Linked DNA regions of Homo sapiens: region 2 is linked to region 1. The links are contacts of gene promoters, found by promoter capture Hi-C in human tissues and cell types (Jung and others, 2019). All regions are on one chromosome and are shown on one strand. The core of a region is centred on a gene start or on the middle of the fragment in contact, and the rest is flanking DNA. Distances in the headings are between cores, read along the strand shown.

Evidence for each region. Contacts are between HindIII fragments. The study calls those that stand out against the background at their distance.
Region 2: a contact is called between a fragment that was not itself captured here and the fragment with the promoter of CLSPN in region 1, in 1 of the 25 tissues and cell types used here (liver).

What each region holds. Positions count from the first base shown.
Region 1 is chr1:35,767,879-35,772,010 of GRCh38, reverse strand. CLSPN (claspin) reads left to right here and starts at 2,033. Exons shown (of 25, transcript NM_022111.4): 1 at 2,033-2,164. The coding sequence starts at 2,141. CLSPN-DT (CLSPN divergent transcript) reads right to left here and starts at 1,916. Exons shown (of 3, transcript NR_199050.1): 1 at 1,763-1,916. RefSeq lists a silencer at 2,191-2,420. The HindIII fragment of the contact is 25,943 bases long and covers 1-4,132 here.
Region 2 is chr1:35,098,138-35,102,269 of GRCh38, reverse strand. The region is part of intron 4 of ZMYM1 (zinc finger MYM-type containing 1); the gene reads right to left. Among named protein-coding and RNA genes, the nearest start is that of ZMYM1, 21 kb to the right of the region's middle. The HindIII fragment of the contact is 6,108 bases long and covers 1-4,132 here.

The DNA of each region.
Region 1 (4,132 bases), core at 784-3,283:
GGTGGGGACAGAAGTGGATTGAGAGATGGTGGGGAAGTAAAGAAATGAAGATGTGGAGAGGGAGCTTTTTTCTGAACCCAGCTAAAGGTGGAAACTTGGAAGAGGAGGCCAGTGGATTGGGTGAAGAACCAACCATTTGGTATACCTGTGACTGAGGAGGTTCTCAGGATGCAGGACTTTTAGTGCTAAAACTAGGAAAGTCCTGGGCAAGCTGGGCCAAGCTGGCCACACTGGCAGTGGATATGACCATGGAGGGTGAAGTGAGCAATAAATACTCTGACCTTTCTTTCCTGGTGGCCTCTCATCTCCTTACAGTAACCTTATAAGGTGTCTTTACAGGGGCCTGACCCAACCAGAAGGGCAAGGGAGCTGGGATAATACAGTCTAGAGAGGTCAGCCTTGCCTTGACACACACCAGGGTAAAGGAAGGACAGAGAATTGACCTGGAGAGGCAAAAAATAATGGCCAGCACAGTGGCAAAACTGGGATTAGAATTGTCTGGGATAGGCCAGGTGCGGTGACTCACACCTGTAATCCCAGCACTTTGGGAGGCTGAGACGGGCGGATCACGAGGTCAGGAGTTCAAGATCAGCCTGGCCAAAATGGTGAAATCTTGTCTCTACTAAAGTTACAAAAAATTATCTGAGCGTGGTGGCACATGCCTATAATCCTAGCTACTCAGGAGGCTGAGGCAGGAGAATCGCTTGAACCCGGGAGGCGGAGGTTGCAGTGAGCCGAGATCACGCCATTGCACCCAGCCATGGTGACAGGGAGAGACTCTGTCTCAACAAAAAAAAAAAAAAAAAAAAAAGAACTGTGTCTGGGATAAACCTGATTTCAGAGCTTCAATTCTTTTTCCAGCCTTGTTTAAAGGTAGAATGCCCTCTAGGAGTGATGAGTGCTTTCTACATCCTCAAATTAACTCTACAGAGAATTATAAAGATTATCCAACCATATTCTTTGGTATCTGAGCAGCCCACAAAACTTTTTTCTTTAGAGACAAGGTCTCCCTCTATCGCCTACGCTGAAGTGCAGTGGTGCGATCATAACTCACTCTAACCTCAAACTCCTGGACTCAAGCCATCCTCCCACCTCGGCCTCCCAAAGCGTTGAGATTACAAGCGTGAGCCATGGAGCCCGGCCCTCTTTAAAAAATAAAAGTGGGCCGGGCACAGTGGCTCACGCCTGTGAGGGGTATGAGGCCTCCCAGCACTTTGGGAGGCCGAGGCGAGGATCATTTGAGATCAGGAGTTCGAGACCAGCCTGGCCAACATGGTGAAACCCCGTCTCTACTAAAAATACAAAAATTAGCCAGGGGTTGGTGGCGGGTGCCTGTAATCCTAGCTACTCAGGAGGCTGAGGCACGAGAATCGCTTGAACCCGGGAGGCGGAGGTTGCAGTGAGCCGAGATCGCGCCACTGCATTTCATCCTGGCTAACAGAGGGAGACTCCATCTCAAAAAAAAAAAAAGTGTGTGTGTATACACATACATGTGTATGTGTATATATGTGTATGTATATATGTGTGTACATATGTGTGTGTGTGTGTATATATATATATATATATATATATATATATATATATATATATTCAGTGGTAAGTGTCATGTACAAGAGGCACACAGGATCTAGCTGCTCCAGAAATGAAGTCAGTGGAGAAAATCCCCACGGGAACCTTGGAATTCCTCTAAAAAGTTCAGGTACAGGACACTCCCAGGTGCCCAGGAACCGTTTCCCAGCTCACTTCCCCCCGAAAGACTCACCCCTCCAATCGCACTCGATGCTTTGGCAAGTGTCAAAGGTCAAAGACCACGGCTCGCCTGGTACCGACTGCCCCGCCCCCGTGCACCTCCAGCTCCCCCAGGCTCCGCTACCAGCAGCTGCGACCCGCCAACTCAGCCTGGGTAATAGGAGATTGGGCGGCCAGAGGCGCTGCGTGATTGGTGGGTCGGAAGGGGGCGGGGACTCGCTGGAAAGCCCCCTCTGGATTGGTGCAAACCATCTGGGTGGGACCTCCACTCTGGCTGGGCGGGAAAGCAAGAACAGCACTGCTGGGCTGGAGACGGCGGGAGCCGCTGCTCTCCGGCTGAGGGAATCAGAGACAGCTCCGTCCCTAGTGGAGCGCAGGGGAGGCAGAAGTCATGACAGGCGAGGTGGGTTCTGAGGTGAGTTTATGCACACGCCCCCCACGGGGGCTTAGAAGGCCGGGCACCGAGAGGTTAGGTGGGGCCGGGGTAGACCCCGCTGACCCGAGGCGCCCGGGCGGGAGGACTGCGGCTCCCGGCGTTCGCCGCGCCGGCTCCCGCGGCCTCGAGACTCGGCCGGGATGGGTTCCGACCGGGCATCCCGTCCCGCCGCCGGGCTTCCCGCGCTTCGGGCTCCGTGGCCGGAGAGCTCCAGGTCTCTGCGGCGCGCACTGCCGGCAGCCCAGCCCCTCTTCAGCCGGTTCCTGCCGCCAGCCCTCCCCTTTGGCGCGTTTCCTGTCGCGGAAGCTCCTCCCCTCAGGGTGCTCTGAAAGCCGGGAGGCTCTAGCCGAACCCGGCCGCAGCGGTGCGGGGGGATTCTCCGCAGAGAGAGGGCGAGCGAGGGTGTTAGGGAGTTCCACACTGGGCCTGGGAGGGGCCCTGGAGGTCATCGCGCGCAGGCCCTTTGCGTTTTCCGACCGGGCCCCGAGTGGGGAAGTCACCGCTGGGGCTCCTGGCTGGTGGCTGGCAGCTCCCTGGCGAAATTGGGCATAGAAAACAGATGTTTCCAGAGCTGTGTCCTTTCTGGGCCGGATTCGGGCAAGGCACTCCCGCCTTAGGAGCAAAATTTAAAGGGGCGCCAAAACCCTCAATCAAACTCATATTTTAATGCAATATTTTTAAAAAACCAAAATTAATGCAAAAACTTTTTATGATTTGATATTGAACAAAATATCAGACGTTTAAACAAAGACGAGATCCGACCAGTCATTTGCACGACCTTGCCTCAATCACCTCACCCTAATTCCATCCCTGTTTCCAATAAACTTTATTTACAAAAGCGGGCATATTATTTACCTCATGAGCTGTAGATTATTGATTTAATTTTTTAAAAAATATTGCATTAATGTTATTCATTTTGATTACTGAATTTTTTGAGACCTCACCCCACCCTGTTACTGGCCCTGCCCTTTGACGTTGCTGCAAATTGCCTAGAAGATAATCGTCATTCAAAGCAGCCCTATTCCTTGAGCTGTCTGGTTACCTAAATTCGGTTTCCACACTCACAAACAGAAGTAATAGTTTTACTGCTTTGGATTGTTGAGAGGATCATCAGTGCATACATATTAATTCTCAGCAATCCCAGCACTTCGGGAGGCTAAGGCCGGCAGATTGCTTGAGCTCAAGAGTTCGAAACCAGCCTGCATAGAAAACATGGCAAAACCCCGCCTCTACAAAAAAAAAAAAATTAGCCGGGCGTCGCCTGTGGTCCCAGCTACTCGGTCCCAGCTACTCGGGTGGCTGAGGTGAGAGAATCCTTTGGGCCTGGGAGGTCAAGGCTGCAGTGAGCCATGATCCTGCCACTGCACTCCAGCCTAGGTGACAGAGTGAGACACTGTATCAAAAAAAAAAAAAATTTGTACCTTGCATTCAAATCAATTTAATAATTTTTTTTTTTTTGAGACGGAGTCTCGCTCTGTTGCCCAGACTGGAGTGCAGTGGCACAATCTCGGCTCACTGCAACTTCTGTCTCCTGGATTCAAGCGATTCTCCTGCCCCAGCCTCCTGAGCAGCTGGGACTACAGGCACACACCACCACGCCCAGCTAATTTTTGTATTTTTAGTAGATACGGGGTTTTACTGTATTGGCCAGGCTAGTCTCGAACTCCTGACCTTGTGATCCACCCACCTCGGCCTCCCAAAGTGCTGGGATTACAGGCGTGAGCCACCATGCCTGACCAATTTAATAATTTTTTGAGAAACCACTCAGCTGAGGCCTTGTGCCCTGTTACATTACTGATGTTCATATTTCTCCCTTTATTAATAAGTTGATTCAGAGCCCTGAGAACACTAAGGAGGTAGACTTGGCATCTAGGGTTAGCTTTAAGGTCACTAACTGATCAAGTCACCTAACACACCCCTCCTCCTTAGGTTTTTATTTGCGACTTT
Region 2 (4,132 bases), core at 452-2,951, 670 kb after region 1:
TTTGATCCCACATTGCAACTAGCCTTTAAGAAACTACCACTTGATTTTTGGTTGTAGTATCAAAGAACACCCACAACGATCTAAAAGGCTACTAAAACACTCCCCCCTTTTCCAATCACCTATTTATGAGGCCAGGTTTTCTTCAGACTTCAACCAAAACAACACTTTGCAATAAAGTGAAGGCAGAAACAGATACAAAAATCCAGCTAGATGTAAAGTGATTTGCAAAACTGATAAAACAATACTTATCAATTTTTAAAAATATGGGTATTTTTCATTTAAAATGTCATTTAATTTTTGATACAGTTAATATTCATAATCTACATAACTAAAGCTCTTTGGGTGTTCAATAATTTTTAAGGGTACAAGAAGTCCTGAGACCAGAAAGTTTGAGAACAGCCACTATAGAAAATATCAATACACCTAATAGCAGGCGCGGTGGCTCACACCTTTAATCTTGGGAGGCCAAGGTGGGCAGATCACTTGAGGTCAGGAGTTCGAGACTAGCCTGGCCAACCCCGTCTCTACTAAAAATATTTAAAAACATTAGTATTTTGTGATCAATGTTTTGGGAGTTATGAACACGACACTGTAAAATCACAGACCACAGAAGAATTAATTTGGGGGGTGGGCGGTTGTAAGAGGAGAGTGAGGAATGGTGTGGGAATAGACAAAAGGTAAAGATATTTGAGGCATACCTTTCAGACAGAATAAAGATACCAGCCAGATGGGAAGGGAGGAAGAAGAAACTACATCAGCGACGCATGGAAGTCTGAAAATGCTTCTTAGTTTTTATTGCTATCAGCATACTAGATTGCTGGCTTCTAAGAATCTACTAAAGCTTTATAAAAAATTGAAAAATGAATGTTGGCCAGGCACGGTGGCTCACATGTGTAATCCTGGGAGGCTGGGGCAGGCAGATACCTGAGGTCAGGAGTTGGGAGACCAGCCTGGCCAACACGGTGAAACCCCATCTCTACTAAAAATACAAAAATTAACGGGGCATGGTGATAGGCACCTGTAATCCCAGTTACTAGGGAGGCTGAGGCAGAAGAATCGCTTGAACCTGGGAGGCGGAGGTTGCAGTGAGCTGAGATCCCGCTATTGAACTCCAGCCTGGGCAAAACGGTGAGACTCCGCCTCAAAAAAAAAAAAAAAAAGAATGTTGGCTGGGTACGGTGGCTCACGCCCATAATGCCAGCACTTTGGGAGGGCAAGCCAGGAGGATCACTTGAGCCCAGGAGTTCAAGACCAGTCTGGACAACATGGTGAAATCATCTCTACAAAAAAATACAAAAACTGGACAGGCAGGGTGGCATGTGCCTGCAATCCCAGCTACTTGGGAGGGTAAAGGTGGGAGTATTGCTTAAGCCCAGGTGGTCGAGGCTGCAGTGAGCCAAGATGGTGCCACTGCACTCCAACCTGGGTGACAGACAGGGACCTTGTCTCAAAAAAAAAAAAGAAACGCCAACAAATTAGGAACAACTTTCCGATAAATAAATCAAACCTTAGTGCAGGGGCCTATTTTGGACTTTATTGATTGCATTCAGGATTTGCGGTTGGTTCCAACTGAGATACTAAAGTGAAGAAATGACACTTCTTAAATACAAAGTTCCCAAGAACAAGTCACATCTTTTTTTTTTTTTTTGAGACAGGGTCTCACTCCGTTGCCCAGGCTGGAGTGCAGTCGTACAATCTCAGCTCACTGCAACCTCCGTCTCCTGGGTTCAAGCAATTCTCCTGCCTCAGTCACTGGTGTAGCTGGGTTTACAGGCACACACCACCACGCCTGGCTAATTTTTATATTTTTAGTAGAGACAGGGATTTGTGGTGTTGGCTAGACTGGTCTCGAACTCCTGACCTCCAGTGATTCTCCTGCCTTGGCCTCCCAAAGTGCTGGGATTACAGGTGTGAACCACCTCGCTTGGCCCACAAATCGCATCTTTCTAATAAGATTTAAAATGTCATCTTCAAAGGGATCTTCCATTTGGTCCATGAAATAGAATAAAAAGTGCATTGACTCAAAACAGATATTAAATCATTCCTATAAAAGAAATCTTAAAAAGTAACTAAAAATCAGGCAGGGCGTGGTGGCTCATACCTATAATCCCAGCACTTTGGGAGGCCGAGGAAAGCAGATCACCTGAGGTCCGGAGTTCGAGACCAGCCTGGCCAACATGGCGAAACTGCATCTCTACTGAAAATAAAAAAACTAGCTGGGCACAGTGGCACACGCCTGTAATCCCAGCTACTTGGGAGGCTGAGGCAGGAGAATTGCTTGAACCCAGGAGGTGGAGGTTGCAGTAAGCCAAGATTGCACCATTGCACTCTGGCCTGGGTGACAGATTGAGACGAGACTCCGTCTCAGACAAAACAAAACAAAACAAACAAACAAACAAAACTGAAAATCAGCACGGTGGCTCACACCTGTAATCCCGGCACTTTGGGAGACCAAGGCAGGAGGATCACTTGAACTCAGGAGTTTAAGATCAGCCTGGGAAACATAGTGACTCTGTCTCTGCAAAAATAAATAAATAAGTAACTGAAAATTATTTTCAGTTCAGGATAGTTTCACTGGAAGATAAAAAAACCCCAGAAGAATAGCTAAAATTTATGTAAAAGGCTAATTAATGTGGAATTTTTAAGTTTTGAAAAAAGCAGCCTACTCTGAATCATGGATGGCCTTTTCCAGCCTAAAATTTACTACCATCTTTCTACCCACTACAATATAATATTTTTTATAAAAAAATTTTATTCTAGAGGAAGTAAAACTTATCTCAGATTTTTACTCATATTGGATTTCCATGCCTAGGAGAACTTACACACTAAATCTTTCCTGCTTCAGCCTTTTTCAATCTGTCTGGGACATCTGCTGAAGATGTGTAGTGAGTCTCTAAGGTCCCTTCCAGTTTTATGACTCTGCAGGGAGAGAAAGCAGGCTGAAGAGAGTACTATATGGCCCATAGCAAAAAAGTAAAAAGACAAAAGACTAGTATAGTATTGAAGGGTTGAAAAGCAAAAGAGAATGGTAAGTAACGTGCCATGGAATAAGACCTGAAGCAACAGATAATAACTGAAGCAGCAGCCAGAGGAGCTGAAGCAAACCCATCAAAAGGGTTTGTGAGTTTGTTAAGAGAATAATAATAGTTAACATTTATTGAGTTCTTACTACATGCTGGTATTGTTCTGACCACTTAAATATACTATTTAATGCTCATAATTCTTTTGTACATTTATCAAAAACAGATACGAATACTAAGTAACAAAGAAGTTCTCAATACTGCTCCAACTTTAGCATGTATAGGAATCACATGGCGATAAATGCAGTTCTGAATCAGCAGGTCTGGGTAAGACCTGAGAAAGTGCATTTCTTTTTTTTTCTTTTTGAGACAGTCAGTGCAGTGGCCTGATCTCAGCTTACTGCAACTTTAGCCTCCCGGGTTCAAGCAATTGTCCTGCTTCAGCCTCCCAAGTAGCTGGGATTACAGGTGCATGCCACAGTGCTCAGCTAATTTTTTTGTATTTTAGTAGAGACAGGGTTTCACTGTGTTGCCAGGCTGGTCTCAAACTCCTGAGCTCAGGCATTCTGCCCACCTCGGCCTCCCTAAGTGCTAGGATAACAGGCGTGAGCCACTGCTCCCAGCCTGAGAAAGTGCATTTCTAACAAACTCTTGGGTGATGCTGATCTAGCAACTCAGGGATGAAACTTTGAGTAGTAAAATATAACTAAACAGAAGAAGCAAAATTCAAATTATGGCAACCTGAGTCCAAAACAAGTATTATTTGAAAGAAATTTGTTATATTTAGAAGCACTGTGGTTGCCTATGGATTTTCTTGTTCTGAACAAGAACATTTAAAAATTAGCATATCCTAAGTGCTAACAACCATAATTATACAGCCTTAGGACTCTCAAAGCCAAAATGACACTGATTCTTCACACATTCTCACATAAATTTTTAAAAGATTACATAGAGACATGTAGGTTTATCTATGGCCATCAATTTTTCAAAAGAATCACTTCATTTACCATTATAAAAGAAATATAATATTATTCCACATCTTGGAAAATCCAAACTAACTGTCATAGGATTAATTTTTTAGTAGGTTGCTCCCTATACAGTTAAATAGAACA